Regions from separate parts of the Homo sapiens genome. Here regions 2 and 3 are each linked to region 1. Evidence: promoter capture Hi-C in human tissues and cell types (Jung and others, 2019). All regions are on one chromosome and are shown on one strand. Each heading gives the region's core, a stretch centred on a gene start or on the middle of the fragment in contact. The rest is flanking DNA. Distances are from core to core; before and after follow the strand shown.

Region 1 (3,538 bases), core at 693-3,192:
AGCCTCCTCCCAAGTAGGTGGGACTACAGGCGGGTGCCACCACGCCCGGCTATTTTTTACATTTTTAGTAGAGATTGGGTTTCACCATGTTGGCCAGGCTGATCTTGAACTCCTGACCTGAGGTGATCTACCTGCTTCAGCCTCCCAAAGTGTTGGGATTACAGGTGTGAGCCACTGCGCCTGGCCAGGGGATAGGTTTAAATTGTGTCAACATACCTGTCTTTGATCTAAGTTCAGGCCAACTTCCATTCCTCAATATTTTGTGGCTGTCACAGACCTGAGACTGACATTCCAGTTTCCGGAGCCTTTGTTCCACTCCAAAATCAGAGTTCAAAGGTTAATTTCATCAAATTCTATGTGGATGCCTTCAAAGAGTATGTCTATGCGCACAAAGAAGCCGGCCATATGCTTATGAGCATTAAATGAGTTAATATATGTGAAACAATTATAATAATGACTGGCACATAGCAATAACTCCATAAACATTTTCTGGTGCTGCTGTCGTTGTTATTGTTATCCTCCATTTGTTCAAAAAGAATGTATCAAGTGCCTGTAGATGTTCTGGGCACAAGATATACAAAGGTGAACTGAACAGACCAGATCTCTGCCTTTATGGAGCTTAGCATGTATGTGTCCATACTTGGGAGGGGGAGTGTTTAGTTCACAAAATAAACAAAGTTCTGTAAGTTGAGCAGAACAGTGAACGGCTGTGCTACCTAGATGGGTGGTAATAGACTACATTCTTGGTGAGGACAGGCCGATCTCTCTTGTTCGACACTGTTGCTCCAGCATCTTGTGAAAGCCATAGTGGGTACCTGATTTATGTTGGTTGACTAAATAAATAAATGGGTGACTTTCTGAGAGGGAGCACAGTTAAATCCGGCACAACAGGTTTTGGGTTTAGGTGGTGTGTGCAGATATGATGTAAGGTATGTAGTTTGCAGGTTCTGTTTATGTGGCAGAGTCGGCGTCAGAGTATACGTGGGTGGACGTGGGGAAGAGAATGAGGTTATGAAAGCACAGATGTACATAAGTAAAGTCTGCATACATCTGAGGTAACATGAAAAGCAAAGTCTTTGGTTGTGTGATTTTTGAAGTAAATCTGGGCTTAGGTGTGAATCTAAGTGTCGGTTCCGACTGAGGTAAACCTGGACTTGTGTCAGTGTGTGAGATTAAAATCTGGGGTTTGTTGTATGAGGGACAGAGCATCAATGAAGAGTGCTTTGCAAGGCAAAACCTAAGAATGTGTGTGTGTGTGTGTGTGTGTGTGTGTGATCTGAAATGAGGCAAATTAGGGGTGGTAAAAAGCAAACTAGGATATTATATAGAAGCTAAGAAAGGGCTTATGTGAGCCAAAGGGCTTTTGTGACTCTCAATGAAGTAAGAGGGCTTCTCTCTCAGTGTGTGTTTGTGTTGTGTGTGTAAGCCAATTCAGGACTTCATGTGAGAGTGTGGGTTTGCAAGGCAGATTCTAGAACTGGGTGTAGTTATGAGTGTCATCCTAAAGATCAGGATGAGGCAAGTCCGGGGTTCCGGGTAGGATTGTGAGTCTGTCGTAAATTTGAGTTTGTATGTGTTAGTTGTAAATCAGGACTTGGCTTTGAGATGAATCCACCTGGGTCAGCTGGGTTTTTGTGCACGAGGGACGTCAGAAAGCTTTGTGTTTGTGAGGCAAACTAGGGAGTTAGTGTGGGTGAAGCAGTCAAGTGCTGGAGTGTGAACATTTCTAAGACGTCTAAATTGCGCGAAAGTGTGTGAGGCAAGGCTGTTGCGCGAGCGGGCAGTGTGCGCCTGTGTGTGCGTGTGCGCGCGCGCCAAGTTTGGTTTGTGATTGTGATGGGCACCGACGCTGCGTCAGCCCGGGAGGCCACGTTAGGGTTGGGGGTGCGTGAGGAGGTGCGGCCGGGCGAGAGGTCCAGCGAGTGAGCCAAGCGCGGCGCTACTCTGGGCCCCTGCTCCGCGCGCTAGCTGGCTGTGTGGCTCGCTGGCTCGCTAGGGACAAGCAGGAATCGGAGCAGCACTGCCGCCTCTGGCGCGAAGGCTCAGGCGCCTCCTCCCGCCACAGTCACTGTGGCTCGGCGCACGCTGCCGGCGGCTGCCCTTTCCGCCTCTGGGGAAGAAAAACCCGCGGGCCGCTTTCGTGCTTGAACCATGGCCTCGGGCCGGAGGGGCTGGGACAGCTCCCACGAAGACGATCTGCCCGTGTACCTGGCCAGGCCGGGCACCACGGACCAGGTCCCGCGGCAGAAATACGGCGGCATGTTCTGCAACGTGGAGGGCGCCTTCGAGAGCAAGACGCTGGATTTCGATGCCCTCAGCGTGGGGCAGCGGGGCGCGAAGACTCCTCGGAGCGGCCAGGGCAGCGACCGAGGATCGGGGAGTCGGCCCGGGATCGAGGGGGACACCCCGCGCAGGGGCCAAGGCCGGGAAGAGAGCAGGGAGCCCGCGCCCGCCTCCCCCGCCCCCGCCGGGGTAGAGATCCGGAGCGCCACCGGCAAAGAGGTGTTGCAGAACCTCGGCCCCAAGGACAAGGTAAGGGGGCCCCGGGTCACTTCCCTCCTTGCCTTCGTTCCTTTCTCCAGCCCTGGCCGCCATGGCCCGGGCACAACTTTCTCCAGCTCACTTTGCACGGGGCTGGGGGACAAGGAGGAGGAAAGGGTCATCCTCCACTGAGCGTAGCGCGACTTCCTAGCCCAGACCCTGGATTCGCGCGTGTCGCCACTTGCAGCATCTTCGTGCAAGCGCGGAAGGGATGCCCGGGTTCCCCTGCCTGGAGCCGCGTCCTTTGCCCCTGCCTCCTCGCCGCACTCCTGGGCCATCCGGTCTGGGTGGGTGTGTCAGCCCGGGAAGGCTTAGTGATTTCCAGCTCTTCTCTCTAGTAGCCAACAGCACAATTGTCTTGCCCCCCTCTGGCCCTAGATTAAATCTCAACCCGGGTCACCACGGCAGAGGGCAAAGTGATGCTGGGAATATGGGGGTCATCTCCATAGTGCCCGGATGAAAGTACTGGAGGGGCGGTCTCCCCTCTCAGTCTTCAAACATCAGCTCTGTCCCTGAAACTTTTGGGTGTGGAGCCTCTAGACTAAACACGCGAATCTCTCTCTATGCCTCGCTTGTGTCTTAGCACGGCATTTCACATCTGTGTTTGTAAAGAGTGTATTTGTGTACATAGCTTGGCACAAGACTGGGTATTACAGGGGTCCAGCTGCCTCTGCAAGAATAGCATTATATTTTAGAAAATAGACGAGAGTATTAAGAGTGCACATTAAACTAGCATGAGATGCAAATTCCCTGCTGCTCTTAAATGTGCCAAAGCCAATTTCTTCTGTATGTGTATTTTTGAGAAACTTATGTCACACTGAACTGACTGAAGGGATGGCATTGAAATCTAGCTTGCCCTGATTTATGTGTCTATTTCACAGAGACTCAGAGATGTAGTTCAGAAAATGCAGGGCCTGGCAGGGCTGGAGACTTCAGAGTTCAAACTGAAGCTTTCAGTTGGGGAATAATAATAATCAGATGCCCTCACCCTTGTCTA
Region 2 (3,538 bases), core at 326-2,825, 74 kb after region 1:
GTAGGCACTAGGTGGAAGGCTTTGACCTGAGAAGATTTAGGGAGATTCTAGCTTCTAAAGGAACTCACATTTATTGAGAATCTGGGCTTCATCCTCACAGCATTCCTTTGAAAAAGATATTATTTTCCTCGCTTTACAGTCAGGACTCCAAAGCCCTTCTCTTTCCCACCATTCCATCAGGCTAACTGGCACTGATTCATCACTTGAATTCTTGGACTGCTTTAACAATGAGGACCCTCTTTGCACTCCTGTATGATAGACCTAATCTTTGAGGTCTGGACTACAAGGCAGAGCAAACTGGAAGACATCTGTGGTCTTTGAGACAATTCCTTCCTTCCACACTCTCCATGGGGCCCTCTTCATGGCCGCCTGGTGTGACTGGAGCACCACAGCTGAGTGTTCTGTTAGACTTGCACACCACGGACAGTTTTAGGAAGTTACATAAGCCAGTGGTTGTGTGCTTATGACCACAATCCCCAAGAAGCTCCCACAAGCTTTAAAAATACAATGTCAGACTTGAAGAAGAATCCCTGTGGCCTCCACAAATAGATGGGGAGCTATTGCCTGTCATTTGAAGGTGCTTCTCACACATTCCAAGGCCTGAGCCCGCATTCCTCCTCTGGGAGTTGCATTTTGGCGGGCTTTCAGATTTGGTGAAAAGGTTTCTTGTTTCTGAGAAGCAATAGGGTGGGAATTCACTCGACGTCTTTGTCATTGTAAAGGCCCTGTCAAAGCCAGCTGTCAGTCAGAAAAGATGAAAAGAGAGAGCTGCTTCTTAAGAGGGAGCTGGGTACCATTAACGGCACAGCCTCTTGGAAAGGCGAAGGGGATCACAGAACTTTGACCGGAATCCTTGGCTCCCGACTCCCATTCTAGGGATCTTTCCACCCTTCTTTTCTGCCTTTCAGTTGGCACAGCCATTTTCAGCGTGGCATTAACTCAAGCCCGTCCACTAACACCTGACCTTTCTCTTAAATCCCAGGCCACCATTTCAGTGACCTGCTACATTGCTGTATGGTTGACCAGTACCTCAAAATTATTCTTAGTCTTACACTTCAATTTTGTTAGTCCTTTTTCTGTTTCCTGTGTCTATTAATGGGTCCTCTGTAGACATGCTGCTTTAAAACTCAGTCTGGTTTGGCACGTCTGCATCTGCGTCACTTTCCCTTCCTCTTCAGTTACTTAGTTGATTGACACTTTCTTCTGCAGTATGCCATTGCATTTTCTAATCCATATTCTTCCTGTCACACTGGACCACAGCAATTACCACATTCTTTTACTTTTTTATAATTTTCTTTATTAAGTTCCTTTTAAAAGTTATAAAGTACATTACGCATATGCAACTAGAGAAATAATGTAAATAAATAGAAGAGAGAGAAGAAAAAGTTTAAAAGGACCCCTACAACCTCTCTCTGCATCCTTTCCTTCTACAACATCCAATGTTAATAATATGATGTGCATCCTTCTGGAACTTTCTTCCAGATCAGCTCACACAAAAATATAATAAACATATTTACATACAGCATTTTTTGTTTGCTTTGACAAGAACTACATCATATTTTGCATATTGCTCCAGAACTTACTTATTTTAGATATTTCTTCAGTTCATGATATAGATTTAAAGGTGGCCATAATAATCATAATCCATATTTGTGGTGATATCATAGTTTATTAAATCACATCCCATTGTTGGCTATTCAGGGCCTGGGCTGGGTATTTCCTGCTTGCATCCCCAGATATCCTCTCCACCTTTGTCTACCCTGCTCCATACTCCGTGTATGGTGTGCCTTAGTTGGTTTCTTTGCCCTTGGGCTTCTGGTTGCATTTAGCTCTTAGGGCACCAATAGGAGATTAGAGGGAGAGTGAACAATGAAGTCGGGGTATTTTCCCCTGATTCCTTCCTATCACTAGGTCATTGTGGGGCAGCTGCATGTCTCTGCTGAAGGTTACGGCTCCTGCCAGGCAGCCCTCTCCATACAGCTACAGTCTCCACTTCCAATAACCACTCCCTCCCCTTTCCCTCTTCTGGCCTTGGCAATGGCTCCCTGATGCTGGTAGGCCCTGGATGCTGCATATCCATTTATTTGCCCTAAACACTGCCCACACTTTGTTAAGTAATTTCTTTGTTAAATTCTCCTTAATAACTTCTTAATAATTTTATCTGTTTCCTGCTGGCACCCAGCATGCTAAAGGTCTTTTCTTATTTTGTTTTGTTTTTTTTCCCCCTGCCACTTGCTGTTTCTAAGTTTTTCCTTCCTTTATCTCCAGCATGGGCCTCTGTCAGCTTGATTTTTTGACCCTATGATTGACTATTTTACTTATTTTTTGAAGATCCTTCTAGGGCTACTACATAGTAAAGGTCAAACTTCCTAGTTGGCAGCCGTTTGCATCCCTTATTCCAGTATCTTAAGCTTTGGAAGAAGGAGGGTGCCTAACTCCACAATCTCTTATAGAGATGCATTTCTTGCATCGATACCATTGGTTCTCCCAATGATTGGTTGTGTAATATTGGACCATGAGCTAACCTCCCTAAGCTTCCATGTCTTCATCAATGCAATAGGAATGACAGTAGCATATAATTCATAGCACTTGAAGATTGATTGAACAACATGTACTTAAAGCTTCTACCTGTTTTCAGCAAATAAGAAGTTTTCAGTAAATGGTAATTATGAATTATTGTAACACGCTGTGATCATAATTGCCGTTGGCCATACCCACGTGTACAAATCAGCTATTTACCTTAGATTCACTTAGGCAAGGCCTCTGTGGATCCTTTAATCTCTGCCAGACAAAAGATTTTTCTGCCTGCCTCTCTCCTCTCTCTCTCTCTTCCCCCCACCTTTCTTAATTAATAGACTTTGTTTTTTAGAGAAGTTTTAGGCTTACAGAAAAATTGTGCACAAAGTACAGAGAGCTCCCATAGACTCTTTCTCACTCCCTCCTCACCCCCAAGTTTCCTCTCTTATTAACACCTTACATTGGTGTGGTATGCTTGTTACAATAGATGAACCAATATTGATACATTGAAGAGAGTCCAGTTTACATTAGAACTCACTCATTGTTGAGTAGTTCTACGGGTCTTAACAAATGAAAAATGTCATGTGTCTATCATTGCAGTATCGTCTAGGACAGTTTCACTGCTCTGAGCCACTTCAGTGCTCCGCTTACTCACCAGTTCATCCCCTCCCTGTTCCCCTACCCCCCGCCCCAACTGGTAACCACTGATCATTTTACTGTCTTTCTATAGTTTTACTCTTCGTCATTTTAGGTCACATTACTATTTGCGATCCTGGCTTACTTTTCTAACTGTTTTATCTTTACTTCTCTATTCACCTTCTGTATTCAACTTCATGGCTAGTAGTTACACTAGCATATGTTTCAGGAATGAATTATTAAACTCGTTTACCCTTAGAATAAAGACTTAGGTTGAATTTAGGCACTTCTTCCTGATGGAATAGGCATTTGGCTTTTGCACAGGCCCAGGGGCTCAAGGGACAAGAGATCCTGTTTGATTGAAGCTGGATGTCACTTCTCTAGT
Region 3 (3,538 bases), core at 679-3,178, 65 kb before region 1:
GCATGGTAGCAAGCGCCTATAATCCCAGCTACTGTGGAGGCTGAGGCAGGAGGATCACTTGAGTCTGGGAGGTGGAGGTTGCAGTGAGCCGAGATCACACCACTGCACTCCAGCCTGAGCAACAAAACAAAAACAAAAACAAAACAAAACAAACAAACAAAAAAAATGGGTGCAGTGGCTTATGCCTGTAATCCCAGCACTTTGGGAGACCGAGGCTGGTGGATCACCCGAGGTCAGGAGTTTGAGACCAGCCTGGCCAACGTGGTAAAACCCTGTCTGTACTAAAAATACAAAAATTAGCCGGGCGTGGTGGCACAGCCTTATAATCCCAGCTACTCGGGAAGCTGAGGCCAGAGAATTGCTTGAACCCGGGAGGCAGAGGTTGAAGTAAGCTGAGATCACTCCACTGCACTCCAGCCTGGGTGACAAGAGCAAAAACTCCATCTCAAAAACAGAGAGAGAGAATACTGTGTAAGTGACTTGCCTACTGGTGGAGCTACTAAATGGTTGAGCCAAGACCTGGGTCAGATCATCTGACTTCAAGTTTAGTGAACTTTCCCTAAAAATAACAATGTAATTATTTTATATTATAATAAAATTAATTTATATTATATAATCCGGCCAGGCACGGTAGCTCACACCTGTAATCCCAGCACTTTGGGAGGTCGAGGCAGGTGGATCGCTTGAGGTCAGGAGTTCGAGACCAGCCTGGCCAACCTGGTGAAACCCCTGTCTATACTAAAAACACAAAAATTAGCTGGGCATGGTGGTGGGCACCTGTAGTCCCAGCTATCTGGGAGGCTGAGGCCCGAGAATCAGTTGAACCCGGGAGATAGAGGTTGCAGTGGGCCAAGATCGTACCACTGCACTCCAGCCTGGGTGACAGAGTGAGACCCAGTCTCAAAAAATAATACTACTACTAATAATTAAAGTTTATTATATAATCCTATATAATATATCTTAATATAATTATCAATATAACTAACATATAATTCACTATATATTAAATAAATAACAATATAACAATGACTGAGTCCCTACGATGTATAAAAATTTTTCATGCATTTTTAAATTGGCTATATGGCCTCTAGAGTGATCTGAGGATATAGGCTTTAGAATACTATGTTTGAATCCCAGCTCTGTTCCCCATTAGCTATATGACCTTGATCGACTTAATGAACATCTCTGAGGCTCAATTTTCTCATCCATAAAATAAAAATAATATAATCTGGGCTTATGGTAAGGATTGAATTAAATTAAATTAAAACATTATTTAAAATATTCATAAAATGCCTGGTACAGGGTAGAAGCCCAATCATTATCATTCATGCTCCTAACAAATTTGCATTTACTAAGGAAGAAAGTAACAAATAAAAGTTTAGTAACTTGCCCAGATTTATTCAGCCAATAAGTGGCCAAGTCAGAATCCGAATTCAGATCTGATTCCAAAGCTTATGTTCATTTCACTATTATGTTGCCAGTGTAATTTTGCCTCCAGACATAAATGTCTTTAATATAAATGTCTTTAATAAATGTCTTTAATATTCCTCCATGCACCTGGAACAGGCTACACCTGGAATAGGCTACACATGTAAGAGCTAATCTACACATCTATTAAATGTTAGCAACACTTTTAGACAAGGGGAGGATAGAGAATAGGAACGTTTTGTCTTGTTTTTGTTTTCCTCTTTTTCTGTTCCAATTAATGTACTAAGGATTAAGAGGGAACATAGCTCACTTCCCTCTTTTTCACTGCTCTGTCTTTCTCACTAAAGACAAAAGGATATGGCGCTTCACTACCTAGAAGGTTATGAATCCACACTGTTATCCACAAAGAATCCCTAAGGTTTTTTACTTCCTTTTCAAGTTTAAACCAAGGTTCTTTTCCCAGTTCCCGTGATCTGCCTCAACAGAAGGGACTCAGTGAGTCCCTGCATTTCTGGCATTTCTAGAAGGAAAGGGACAGGACCAGGAGGAGTGAAGGCCCCTGAGTGTGCGTGAGATCAACAGCTGCCTGCTTGGTGGGAACTGAGGGGGGCTGAAAGGATTCTACCCAATCGCTACCCCCGCAAACACACACATCCTCAAATGTCGTCTTGGAGTTAAATATGTATCTATATTCCAGGAAGTCCCTGGGCAAAATGGAGGTAATTTACCCAGAAGGATCATATAATAAGATATTAGAATCCATTAACAGAAAGCCTTGCCTTTTTACTAAATTATTTAGCTGCTCTATTTGGAAACCCTGAAAGGAAAAGAAGCATCATGTATGATAAGGGAATGTCCTATTAGGGAAATATGTTTTACTGAGAGACCCAGATGAGAGGCACATGGGGAACGGGGATTAACCAGGACAACTGTAAATGTCGTACCAAGAGTATTGTGTTGGTAAACAGGCTCTAGGAAGCGAGGGTGGGGGGCTTGATTTATACTCTGCAGATTTCTTCAAGGTAATTATTTCACCATAGCTGATTTCAAACTACCAATGACAAAATTCCTAAATATTTAACAAATGGCCTCCAGGACTGACACAAGCCAGCTCAGGCACATCACTACCAATAATTTTGGAAGGATGAGGTTACTTCCGGCCAATGACAAACAGTGTGACTTTTCAAAGCAGGTGTGTGTTTATCCCTGTCAAGTTCAATATGCTCCCTACCCAACCCCACCCCTCATAGCAGGGCTACAAAGGAATACGTAGAGTTAAGGTGGAGTAACAGCACAAATGAGTGCATGGAAAAACTGGTGAAATCTGAATACAGTCTGCAGTTTGCACGGTCCCAATGGCAGTTTCCTGATTTTGCCATTTTATTCTAGTTACTTAAGTTGTTACCATAGGGAGACGCTAAGTGAAAGGTATGGTGCACTATGTGCTAATTTGCCAACTTACTGTAGAGTTTATAACTATTTTAAGATAAAAAAGCTATATTAAAAAACCCTCAAGCAATATAGGAAAATACGTAGATGACAGCAAAGTTTGCCCCAAAATCATACCACACAGAAATAATCGTGATTATCATTAGGTGGACAGCATTCTAGACATCTTTTGGTGTACATATACAGATAGAAAAGGAAAGAGTTGATGCTACTTTTAGAGAAATAGAGTTCCAAAATAGATTCTATTTTTAAATACATGTAAATAATTTAATTGAACTTAACAGAAGAACCTGATGTTAAACTGTAAGAATCAGTAAACTTCAAATCACACACACACACATATATATTTATACCCATACAGTGGAGTATCAGATTTCATAGATGATGAGACCAGAGCCTGTGGGACCATGTTTTGGCTCTAAAATTAAGGCCTTTAAAATTATAAGTTGAGTTATTGTATTTCCTGTTCTCAGAGACCATAGCGCTAAGAAAGGAGGCATTGAGAGATTCAGCCCACTAAGGTTTCAGAAAAAAAAAATGCAAAAACACTGAACATTAACTTCAAAATGCCTTAGAACCTTGATTGACAACTAGGCTTTTTATATTTGACTTCCTGCTCTGTTTCATTAGCTGAAGCTTTTGACCACACTGTCCTCTTTTT

Evidence for each region. The method cuts DNA at HindIII sites, captures the fragments that hold promoters and counts their contacts. A contact is called where the count stands out against the background at its distance.
Region 2: a fragment that was not itself captured here is called in contact with the fragment with the promoter of DPYSL3 in region 1 in 5 of the 25 tissues and cell types used here (H1 embryonic stem cells, IMR-90 fibroblasts, bladder and 2 more).
Region 3: a contact is called between a fragment that was not itself captured here and the fragment with the promoter of DPYSL3 in region 1, in 3 of the 25 tissues and cell types used here (H1 embryonic stem cells, aorta and thymus).

What each region holds. Positions count from the first base shown.
Region 1 is chr5:147,508,472-147,512,009 of GRCh38, reverse strand. It overlaps DPYSL3 (dihydropyrimidinase like 3), which reads left to right and starts at 1,942. Exons shown (of 14, transcript NM_001197294.2): 1 at 1,942-2,532. The coding sequence starts at 2,152. The HindIII fragment of the contact is 5,398 bases long and covers 1-3,538 here.
Region 2 is chr5:147,434,406-147,437,943 of GRCh38, reverse strand. All of the region lies in intron 1 of DPYSL3 (dihydropyrimidinase like 3), which reads left to right. Among named protein-coding and RNA genes, the nearest start is that of DPYSL3, 74 kb to the left of the region's middle. The HindIII fragment of the contact is 4,116 bases long and covers 1-3,538 here.
Region 3 is chr5:147,573,211-147,576,748 of GRCh38, reverse strand. All of the region lies in intron 1 of JAKMIP2-AS1 (JAKMIP2 antisense RNA 1), which reads right to left. Among named protein-coding and RNA genes, the nearest start is that of JAKMIP2-AS1, 15 kb to the right of the region's middle. The HindIII fragment of the contact is 3,633 bases long and covers 112-3,538 here.